Regions from separate parts of the Homo sapiens genome. Here region 1 is linked to region 2. The links are contacts of gene promoters, found by promoter capture Hi-C in human tissues and cell types (Jung and others, 2019). All regions are on one chromosome and are shown on one strand. The core of a region is centred on a gene start or on the middle of the fragment in contact, and the rest is flanking DNA. Distances in the headings are between cores, read along the strand shown.

Evidence for each region. The method cuts DNA at HindIII sites, captures the fragments that hold promoters and counts their contacts. A contact is called where the count stands out against the background at its distance.
Region 1: a contact is called between a fragment that was not itself captured here and the fragment with the promoter of GTF3C6 in region 2, in 1 of the 25 tissues and cell types used here (heart left ventricle).

Annotation. Positions count from the first base shown.
Region 1 is chr6:110,663,970-110,669,881 of GRCh38, forward strand. It overlaps CDK19 (cyclin dependent kinase 19), which reads right to left. Exons shown (of 13, transcript NM_015076.5): 4 at 3,465-3,605. Among named protein-coding and RNA genes, the nearest start is that of CDK19, 150 kb to the right of the region's middle. The HindIII fragment of the contact is 6,157 bases long and covers 639-5,912 here.
Region 2 is chr6:110,955,443-110,961,527 of GRCh38, forward strand. It overlaps GTF3C6 (general transcription factor IIIC subunit 6), which reads left to right and starts at 3,264. Exons shown (of 6, transcript NM_138408.4): 1 at 3,264-3,384; 2 at 3,730-3,810; 3 at 4,972-5,035; 4 at 5,130-5,174. The coding sequence starts at 3,328. RefSeq lists an enhancer at 3,137-3,586. The HindIII fragment of the contact is 9,932 bases long and covers 839-6,085 here.

The DNA.
Region 1 (5,912 bases), core at 2,467-4,966, 290 kb before region 2:
CATTGATGAGGTAATAATAATCAGTGGTGGCTTTTCTAGTGGGGGAAAAAATCATTCTGTTGCTCACAAACTGTCAGTACTTAAACAAACAAAAAGACCCCAAAAACTCTCTAACTCTAGTAGGCTCCAACCCATATCTTCTGAGCATGACCTCACATTACTGCAATTCAGCTTATCCATATTTGAGCCAACCAGAACTGCACATCCTTTCTGAGATAATCCAAGTGCTTCTTTACCTCAGAAGTTTTACATCTAAAACTCCCTTGGGTTACCCTCATCACCCAAGTCTCTATTTAAATTCTAGTCATCCTTCAAAGTCCAGCTCAAATGCAACCTGCTCTTTCAAACTTACCCTTATCCCCTACTCAGAAGCTCTTCTGGCCTTGCATAGATTCAGTCTGTACTTCTCATGTAGCTACAATCACATTCTCTCTCATCTATCTTATAGTATAATTGTTTGTGTGTATGTCATATTTCTTCAAGGCTCCTTGAGAAGAAGGTGTTTGACATGGTCATATTTGTGTTGTTCCCATCCCTCTGTGCTTTACACATACAAGAAAACAAAAAATGTTCATTAAGGATAGTGTATTCAAATGCCTGATCCCCAAAATGTCAGTACTATTCTCCCTAATACTCATTCACTGAGGAAATACTTCCTCAACACCTATTGTGTACAGGGGCAGTAGTGTACAAAAAGAGTCAGACATAGATCTTGCTCTCTCAAGAAGTTCACAGGCTACGAGATGTTCTAAGAGATCTCTAAACTGCTATAATACTAATAGATAAATGCCATAACAGAAGTAAAGATGCAGTACAACAGGAACCAACAACAAGAAGAGATTGGTTCCAAGTAGACATGGATATGAGGGTAAGTTTTAATTAACATTTGTGTTGGGCCCTGAAAGACAGATAGTATTTGAATATGTTGAGACAGGGATAAGGGGTTTTAAGATAGGGGAAATAAAGGCCATTAAGGCAGGAAATCCCAGGAGGAGACAGGGAACACTCAATAGTTCAGTAGTAAAGTATACATGAAAGATGACAGGGATAGAGAAAAATTTTAAAGGCAGTTAAAGTTATAATTGGTAAAACTCTGAAAGCCAAATAAGGAAGTAGAGTTTTAGTCTGTAAGCAATGAGGAACTATTTCAAAGTTCTTGAGCAGGAGCTGAGTAATTAGTCAGAAGGTCGAAAGTAGATTGGAAGGGAAACAGATTGTTGACAACAGACAAGTATAGAGGCTAGTATCACAATGCAAGAAAGAGGTAATAAAAGCCTGAACTAGGAATGAGGACTAGAGATGAAAATAGATGAGTGCAAGGCATATTTTAGAGACAACACTGAAAGAACTTGACAAGTTCTGAATGTGGAGTGCAAAGAAGGGTCTGCAAAGAGGTAAAATAAATTTCTAGGCTAGGAAGAGGGTGGTGCCATAACCAAAAGAGAGGACACTAAAGCAGCAGCAAATCTGAATGGGAGGAAACTGAGTCCTGGGCATACTAAATTTTGGTATCAGTGGACATTCAGGTGACAATATCATGAATAAAATATGTTAAGCTATGCTGTTTAGAACAAAATATAGAATTTTATGAAAAAGAGAGAGGAGCTCAGATAAATTAATCTTCAATAAAAGATTCTGATCAATGATTCAAACATGAACATAACCTCAAAAATATAACCTGCATAAGTTTCATTAAGTGCACAGCAGATTAAAATCTAAAAGCCCGTTTATGAAAGAGTTCTTCTCATGATCTAGAACAACATCATGTACCCAATAATCTTTTTGTTTATTTGTTTTGAGATACGGTCTGGCTCAGTTGCCCAGGCAGAGTTTGCAGTGATCTCAGCTCACTGCAACCTCCACCTCCCAGGCTCAAGCCATCCTCCCACCTCAGCCTTCCAAACAGCGAGGACCACAGGAGCACACCACGCCCAGCCAATTTTTCTATTTTTTGTTAGAGATGGGGTTTTGCTATGTTGCCCAGGCCGGTCTCGAAGTCCTGAGCTCAAGTGATCCACCCACCTCGGCCTTCCAAAGTGCTGGGACTACAGGCATGAGCCACCACACCCAGCCCAATAATCATTTTAAAACATGCTGATTCAGAGCTAATAGTAAAGTGGACACATGGAAGCCTCAAAGAATCTTACAGTTAAAAATTATGAGAGGCTGGGCACGGTGGCTCACACATGTAATCCCAGCACTTTGGGAGGCCGAGGAGGGTGGATCACGAGGTCAGGAGTTCAAGACCAGCCTGGCCAAGATGGTGAAACCCTGTCTCTACTAAAAAATACAAAAAAAAAAAAAAAATTAGCCCAGCATAGTGGTGGGTGCCTGTAATCCCAGTTAATTGGGAGACTGAGGCAGAGAATTGCTTGAACCCAGGAGGCGGAGGTTGCAGTGAGCCGAGATGGCGCCACTGCACTCCAGCCTGGGCGACAGAGAGAGACTCTGTCTCAAAAAAAAAAAAAAAAAAAAAAAAAAAAAATTATAAGGAGAAATGCTTCCATTAATATGGTAAATGCATCTTTTGTGGTCACTATCATTTAACCCCAATTTATACAATATCACAGCAAGAATGGTCAAGTCAGATGAGTAGCCCTGACTGACAAGGTCCCAACGGATACTAACTAGATCCTTTCGTCAATAAACACTGCTCATCAGTTAATAAAATGGAATTTACCTAGATGTATCCCTACCATATCCCCAGAATTCTCAAAAGCCTAAGAAACAAAAGATCATGAAATCACGTTGTGGGGCCAAAATAAAACCTCCAACATAAACTGAGGAGAAAATGAGGATTACAGCTATTCCATAACCATATCTTCTTAAGAACAAACAAAAGAAACTTGCATCAACATAAACTAAAATAACAACAATGTGAAGATGAATATCTAGCAATATAATCTGATATCAGTAAATAATGGTTACATGTATACTGAATAAAAAAAAGTAAAATCAAACACTAACTTGCAGCTAATTTGCCTAATAAGTATATACCACCTGTTAGATTTATTTATTCATTTGTTTATTAATATTGATAACATTCTTTTTACTAGATGCAATGTCATTATTTCAGTTTAGATCTTAAGGGAAAGAAAAATGAGAACTCAGTATTAATTACATTTTTACTAATGATGAGCAATAATATGAAGAACAAATTGGATTGAAATGTGCATGCTTCACATGTGACTACTCCATTAAAATTGTACAGTAATCATTTGTTCAAAATCACACTGATATTTTACAGCTATGCATAAATATAATGGAATGATACCCACCAAATGTTAAATAGTGTTAATCTTTTTATTATAGGTTTATGGGTGATTTTTATCTTCTTTTTTGCTTATGTATATTTTCAAGTTTTTCTATAATTAATGTTTTATTATAATGGTACCAAGAAGAAAATATATTTTTTAAAAGAGTAGGGAAAAACATATTGATGAATTTAAAAGAAAAATACTTACCAAGTCTCTGTGAAGCACCCAATTTGCATGGAGGTAATGGATACCATCAAGAATCTGGTAAAGTAAGGATTTAACCATAGATCTTGGCAACTGCATGGGCTTTTTATTTGCTTTTGATGCACGGTGAAACTTAATAATATGCTAAAAATTAAAAAAAAACATAATAATATAGTCTTTGCTAATATCTATGCCAATAAAACACAATCAATGCTGTAACAAATGCTCTATATTTTAAAATTACTTATTAAAGGCCAATAATGACACAAAGAAAAATAATTTGAGTAATAAGTTCAACCAAAACAATCTATTTTGAGGGTGACTGTGACCATGTTAATGAGGGGTTATAATGACTAAATTTACTGAAACCATTAAGATTTTCATTAAATAGGACCAAAAGGTAAAAAGGACTGATATTGAAACAGCTGCTGAAGAAGAGTATTATATTCTCTACTGACAGAATGAAAGATTTAAAAAAGAAAGAAAAACTGTAAATCTTCACTTTCTATAAAAAGTTAGCACTTAGTACACTTGGGTAACATCACTGATCAGGTGTATATTTGAATTATTGGAAAAGTTTCATCTTTGGCACAGAATAAATTAGAATATATTCCTAGGAGTTAATGTTAAATATGAAATTGCTAAAAAGGAAGAGAGAGAAAAAATAGGAAATTCGATCCCATTGAAATAAATACAACTGGGTCACCATATTCAAATTTTTATATCCACGTTATATTGTGGGTTATAAAAACATTGTACTGAAAGGGAAAAAATGCTACCTGCCCCCGCAGTGCTCCCACCTCCACCTCCATCCCTACCCCACCCCTGCCTCTGTCCAAAACATAAAATGGACACTGAGGACCATCAAAATCCTATGCAAACAATACTGATGAAATTGTCAATAGCGCTCCAGTAACTTTAAGATGACCAAATGGTATGTAAAATTATTAAGCTATTTATACAGCTTTTTTATTTTTATAAACTGTTCAGTAATAACATTGATTTGATTTTAAGAAATAATAGAAAAATAGAGTTTATACTACAGCAGTGATTTCCAGTAGAAATATACTGGGAGCCACATGTATAACTTTCCACTTTTTAACAGCTACATTAAAAAAGAGGCTGGGTGTGGTGGCTCACACCTGTAATCCCAGCACTTTGGGAGGCCGAGGCAGGTGGATCACCTGAGGTGAGGAGTTCAAGGCCAGCCTGACCAACACGGTGAAACCCCGTCTCTACTAAAAATACAAAATTAGCTGGGCGTAGTGGTGTATGCCTGTAATCCCAGCTACACAGGAGGCTGAGGCAGGAGAATCACTTGAACCCAGAAGGCGGAGGTTGCAGTGAGCTGAGATTGCATCACTGCACTCCAGCCTGGACAACAAAAGTGAAACTCCGTTTCAAAAAAAAAAAAAAAGAAACAGGTAAAATCAATGTGTGCACTTCAGATACTTCTGAAGTGAATTTTCTAAATATTACAAATACTATCTTCTCAGTAAAATGTCAGTTTATTGCTTAAGTTCTTTAAAATCAACATTTATGATTATATTTATTTTGAAATATGGTATTGGACAGTACAGTTCTACAGGATCTGACTATTCCAATGTACAACATCATCTTCTTTCATCACCCCACTGATGTTCAAAGTAAAGTACATACACTGTCCAGTAAGCCTTGGTTGACATATAGGGGAATATAGAAAAATGGAGAAAATACAATGTCTGTGAATATCCATGAAAAGAATTGAACAAAAAAAACACACTGGAAATTCTTGTCCATATCTGCTATAATAGCATACACTCTGAAAGTTTCTTTAAGACCTGAGTCTGTTAAAGTTATTCCTCAACAGATTTATAACTTATATAGATGACAAACCACATTATATTAAATCAAAATTTATTAGTCAGGTGTGGTCATGCACCTGTGGTCCCAGCTACTTGGAAGGCTGAGGCAGGAGGATCGCTTGAGCCCAGGAGGTCAAAGGTGCAGTGAACCATAACTGTGCCATTGCACTCCAGCCTGGGTGATAGAGCGAGACCCTGTCTCAAACAAACAAACAAACAAAAAAGGCTGGGTGTGATGGCTCATGCCTATAATCTCAACAGTTTGAGAGGCCAAAGTAGGAAAATCACTTGAGCCCAGGAGTTCAAGACCAGCTTGTGCAAGGTGGCAAGACCTTGTCTCTATAAAACATTTTTGAAAAATTAGCCAGGCATAGTGGTGCTAAATTAATTATCCATAATTTTAACTTAGTGCCAGATTTGAAGTTTGTTACTTTTAGCAGTTCCTCAGATAAAGTGTTTAAATGTTCTGATTCCTAATTTGAAAAGACAGGAATTAGAATTTTTTGCTTCTTTCATACGTTGATAAAAACATCCTTAAAGCAATCTTCACTATACATATTAGTAAACTGCCATTAATTACTTGCATAAAAGTATAGTCTCCCGCCAG
Region 2 (6,085 bases), core at 2,014-4,513:
GGATGCTTATGGATGCTTATTGTGCCTAATAAGCTCCTGTTTTGAGCTGAGAGATGTTTCAAACTTTAAGCTTATTTTCACAGGGTACAAGCTCTAGATCATGGAGTCATTACTATGATGTCCTCCTTCCTTCCAAGGGAATGGTTTTCCAGTCTGCAAGCCACATTATAATATTAAAATTATTGGCTGGGCATGGTGGCTCACACCTGTAATCCCAGCACTTTGGGAGGCTGAGGCAGGTGGATCACCTGAGGTCAGGAGTTCAAGACCAGCCTGGCCAATATGGTGAAACTCTGTCTCTACTAAAAACACAAAAATTAGCTGGGCATAGTGGCAGGCGCCTGTAGTCCCAGCTACTTGGGAGGCTGAGGCAAGAGAACTGCTTGAACCCAGGAGGCAGAGGTTGCAGGGAGCTGAGACGGTGCCACTGCACTCCAGCCTGGGCGACAGAATGAGACTGTCTCAAAAAAAAAATTAAAATTAAAAATAAAAATTATTTCACAGATTTTATATACACGTGTTTTTGTAAACACACAGAATATCTTTGAAAGGATATAAAAGAAACTGGTACAAATGGTTGGGGGACAGGTGTAGAAGGCTCACTTTCTGGCTGGGCGCGGTGGCTCACACTTTGGGAGGCCAAGGCAGGTGGATCACTTGAGGTCAGGAGTTCAAGGCCAGCCTAGCCAACATGGTGAAACCTGTCTCTACTAAAAATACAAAAATTAGCCCGGTGTGGTATCGTACACCTGTAATCCCAGCTACTAGGGAGGCTCAGACACAAGAATTGCTTAAACCCAGGGGGCAGAGATTGCAGTGGGTCAAGATCACGGCACTGCACTCCAGCCTGGGCGACAGAGCCAGACTCCGTCTCAAAAAAAAAAAAAAAAAGGAAAAAAAAAAGCTCCCTTTTAACTGTGTATTCTTTTGTAAATCATTAAAAGTAAATAAAAATAATTACTTCATAAATACCAAACAATAACTTTTGCTAGAAGTATGAGGCTTGTTTATTTTAAAGGGACATCTTGAGTTATAACACACTAACCTTTCAAAACACACATATTTTCATTCCTCAAGCCTTTGTTTCTGCTGTTCCCTCAGCTTGGATTATCCACTCCTCCTTACTCTCCCCACATCTCCCTCAAAATCTGACAATTTATGTAATTTTTCAGTTTACCAAGTATTTTTAGATATACGATTGAATTTTTGCTTTCCAAGCAAAAAAGACACAGTAAGTATTATTATTATTTTTTGAGACGGAGTCTTGCTCTGTCGGCCAGGCTGGAGTGCAGTGGCACAATCTTGGCTCACTGCAAGCTCCGCCTCCCGGGTTCACGCCATTCTCCTGCCTCAGCCTCCGGAGTAGCTGGGACTACAGGTGCACACCACCATGCCCAGCTAATTTTTTTGTGTTTTTAGTAGGGACAGGGTTTCATCGTGTTAGCCAGAATGGTCTCAATCTCCTGACCTTGTGATCCGCCCGCCTCAGCATCCTAAAGTGCTGGGATTACAGGCTTGAGACACCGCACCCGGTGTTAAGTATAATTATTTTCATCCTCATATAATAAATAAGAAAACTGAGGTTGGAAAACTTCACAATTATTAAGCTTCAGAGCTAGAATTGAAATGTACTTCTAACAGGTCCAGTGTTCCTTCTACTTTTTTAAGCTATGAAATCCTATACATTTAATTAGGCAACTGGACAAAAATATACACAAAAGAGTGTTATTTACAATATCCACAAATTGTAAATAACCTATGTGTTAAAAAATAGAGGATCAAGTTATGGCACACTCATACAACCATTATGTAAAGACAGGCGCTGTGGCGTGCACCTGTAGTCCCAGTTACTCAGGAAGCAGAGGTAGGAGGCTCCCTTTGAGCCCAGGAGTTTGAGGGTACAGGGAGCTACGATGGCGCCACTGCACTCCAGGCTGGGCGACAGAGCCAGACCCTGTCACAAAAAAGAAAGGAAAGAAAGAGAGAAAGAAAGAAACAAACAATGAATAAAAGAAAGAGAGAAAGAGCATCATACTAAAAAATTTATATATTACTACTAATAATAGATTAAATGCACTTTAAATGCTTACTATGTGCTGAATACTGGGCTAAATTTATTTTATATGTATTGTCTCATTTAATCCTCACAACCACCAATCTGCCCAAAGCCTTGCTGTTAATAATGCAGCAGAACTTGACTGGTATTAAAATCCAAAGCTCAGGCTGGGGACGGTGGCTCACACCTGTAATCCCAGCATTTTGGGAGGCCCAGGCAGGGGGATCGCCTGAGGTCGGGAGTTCGAGACCAGCCTGACCAACATGGAGAAACCCCGTCTCTACTAAAAATAACAGAATTCGCCGGGCGTGGTGGCGCATGCCTATAATCCCAGCTACTCGGGAGGCTGAGGCAGGAGAATCGCTTGAACCCGGGAGGTGGAGGCTGCAGTGAGCCGAGATTGCACCATTGCACTCCAGCCTGGGTAACAAGAGCAAAACTCCATCTCCAAATAAATAAATAAATAAAAATCCAAAACTCACGATCTTAACCACTAGATCACGCTATCGCAAGTACGAAGACCGTTTCTTTCACAATCACAAACATCTATGGGATACTTCTGAAAATTCTGTTCAAACTTCTCTTGCCCAGGTCTCTGTGTTCCTATAACAATGTGTATCTCTTACAGCACTTGCTTGGATCCATTTATGTACCTCTCACAGATCTTATGCTCCTGCAGGCCTGAAACTTAAGCCCACTTTCTATTTTTCATAGCTCCTGGTGCAGTGCTTTTTACTGTGTAGGCGCTCATTAGTATTAAACTGAATGTGCCTTTAACTTGGCTTGGGGTACGTTGAATTGAGGATGAGCGCTCACACAATATTAAGAATTTCTTTCCAAGAAATGTGCTCGGGTCAAACACAAGGCCTTTCTGTCCATGATCCGCCTGAAACCATGGTTTCCTTGTTTTCGCCTTTATCCCTTCTGCCTTGCCAGTCCTCCCCGCCAGCGGGGCCGAGAGCCCGGCGACTCTTGCGTGACCGAGCGGGCTCCGCTGCCTACGGCAGCCCACCCCCAGCCCCTGCTCTGAGGCACCGAGAAACGAGGAGGCCCGTGGCGAGTCTCCACGTGGGTACCGGCGCTCTCGGCGCCCGTAGCCACCCGCCCGCCGGAAGCCGACATCTCGAGTTCTGGCAGAAGCAATTTGCGCGGCGAGGAGCGGAGCGGCAGGAACCCAATAAGCTGCTTCGCCTCGGAGCTGAAGCCCGTACTCAAGATGGCGGCTCCGGGCGGGCGTGGCCAGTGACTAGAAGGCGAGGCGCCGCGGGACCATGGCGGCGGCGGCGGACGAGCGGAGTCCAGAGGACGGAGAAGACGAGGAAGAGGAGGTAGTAAGCGCTACGCCAAAAGCCTGCACCGCAGTGGCGGTGATGCCTGTGCTGGCTGTGTGTGGGGAAGGGAGTTGGGGAGCTGCGGGCCGGAGGGAGGCCCCACTGCTCCTCACCGGCTTCTTGCTCCTGGGCGCGAGGAGCCGGGCAGCTTGGGACCTTAGCCCTAATCGTCACCCCGTACTTGGGATGGGAAGTACCGGGAAGTTACCTTAGGTAGCGTAGTTTCCTCTTGCTGAAAACAGGGTCCGGTTTTCACAAATGTGGGAAATTTGGCTTCTTTTGCTAATTGCTCCCTCTTGGCCGCTCGCGTGCTAGCATGTTAACCCCTCTTTCTTTCACCAGGAGCAGTTGGTTCTGGTGGAATTATCAGGAATTATTGATTCAGACTTCCTCTCAAAATGTGAAAATAAATGCAAGGTTTTGGTGAGTTTTCTAGACTTGGGGGGATTGTTCTAGAGTGTCTTAAATGTAAAACAAGAATCAATGGTGAAATACCTATCCGCAAGTATTGATATATTTATTTCACCTTACAAAGTAGTGAACTCTAAGGATAAGAAGTATACTAAGTATAATTAATTAATATGTAATTAAGTATAATGTAGAAGTACAGCGGGGACTATGGGAGCAGATAGGAGAAAATGGCTAACTTTGCTTGCCTGTTTGAATGTGTGGCTGAAGAGAAAGTTACAGATTTGGAGGAAGTAACATTGTGATATGGAACCGTACATATATTCCTGTATTCTCAGCACTTTGGGAGGCAGAGGTGGGAGGATCACTTGAGCCCAGGAATTGGAGACCATCCTAGGCAACATAACGAGACCCCTTCTCTAAAATAATAATAAAAAAAAATGGCCAGGCGCGGTGGCTCACGCCTGTAATCCCAATACTGGGAGGCCGAGGCGGGTAGATCACGAGCCCAGGAGTTCGAGACCAGCCTGGCCAACATGGTGTAACCCCGTCTCTACTGAAATACAAAAATTAGCCAGGCATGGTGGTGGGCGCCTGTAATCCCAGCTACTCGGGAGGCCGAGACAGGAGAATCGCGTGATCCCTGGAGGCAGAGGTTGCAGTGAGCCGAGATCGCGCCACTGTACTCCAGCCTGGGCAACAAAGGGCAAAACTCCATCTCAATAAAAAAAAAAAATAATAATAATAATAAATTAGCTGGGGATGGTGGCATGCGCCTGTGGTCCCTGCTGCTCAGGAGGCTGAGGTGGGAGGATTGCCTGAACATGATCATGCCACTGCATTCCAGCCTGGGTGACAGAGCTAGACACTGTCTCAAAAAATAAATAGATGACAGATAGACTCTTTGCACTACTGTTGACAAAACTTCCTCTGTTTTTAGCTTACTCTTGAACAGGATGTTGATTGAAATAAACCTTGTTACTTGAGTATGAATTAAGTAGTCTTCAGGTTGTAACTGCTGTGATCAGAGCAGTTGTAGTTTATCCTGTACTTGGTAGGACAAGATGCTCTAGAGGTTCCCCAGTTTTGGAGATTAGTTTCCTTGGTAGCAAGGTTACAATGTTGAAGCCTTTTTCTAATTATGTTTTTTTTTTATGATCCTTTATTCTGTTGTAGGGCATTGACACTGAGAGGCCCATTCTGCAAGTGGACAGCTGTGTCTTTGCTGGGGAGTATGAAGGTAGGAGGATGTCAGATAGATGGAACTCTTTCTGATATGGGCTTTTCAGAGATGGTAGCTCTTCTCAACAATTTGCCTTTGTATTTTTCTGCAGACACTCTAGGGACCTGTGTTATATTTGAAGAAAATGTTGAACATGGTAAGTGATTGCTAGCCCAGCCCTTTTTAATACGAACTATTTCAATCATACTTAAGCATAATAAATATCTCATGTATCCACTGTCTAGCTGTATCATATCCTATCATTTTCCCAAACGTGACTCAGATTATAGTTAAAAAAAAAAAATGCCAGGCTGGGCCAGGTGGCTCAATCCTGTAATCCCAGCACTTTGGGAGGCCAAGGCAGGCAGGTTACTTGAGGCCAGGAGTTCGAGACCAGCCTGGCCAACATGGCAAAACCTCATTTATACTAAAAATACAAAAATTAGCTGGGTATGGTGGCATGTGCCTCCCAGCTACTCGGGAGACTGAGGCACGAGAATTGCTTGAACCTGGGAGGTGGAGGTTGCAGTGAGCCGAGATCGCACCAGTGCACTTCAGCCTGGGCAACAGAGCTAGATAAACTGTGTCTCAAAAACAAACAAAAGAACCCATTCCAGATACATTTGAAGTCCTTCTATCCCCCTTTCCAAACTTACTTCTTTCCCTCTGTCTTCAGAGATGATCACTCTCCTGAATTCTTTTTTTTTTTGAGACAGAGTCTCACTCTGTCACCCAGGCTGGAGTGCAGTGGTGCAATCTTGGCTCACTGCAACCTCCACCTCCCAGGTTCAAGCAGTTCTCCTGCCTCAGCCTCCCGAGTAGCTGGGATTACAGGCGCCTGCCACCACGCCTAGGTAATTTTTCTATTTTTGGTAGAGACAGGGTTTCGCCATGTTGGCCAGGCTGATCTCAAACTCCTGACCTCAAGTGATCTGCCTGCCTCGGCCTCTCAAAGTGCTGGGATTACAGGTGTGAGCCACCACTCCTGGCCAAGGAATAAAAGAAGGGCTACTTCATAGGCAGAGCAGCCTACTTTCTAAAGTATGGTATCAATTTATACTCACAGTA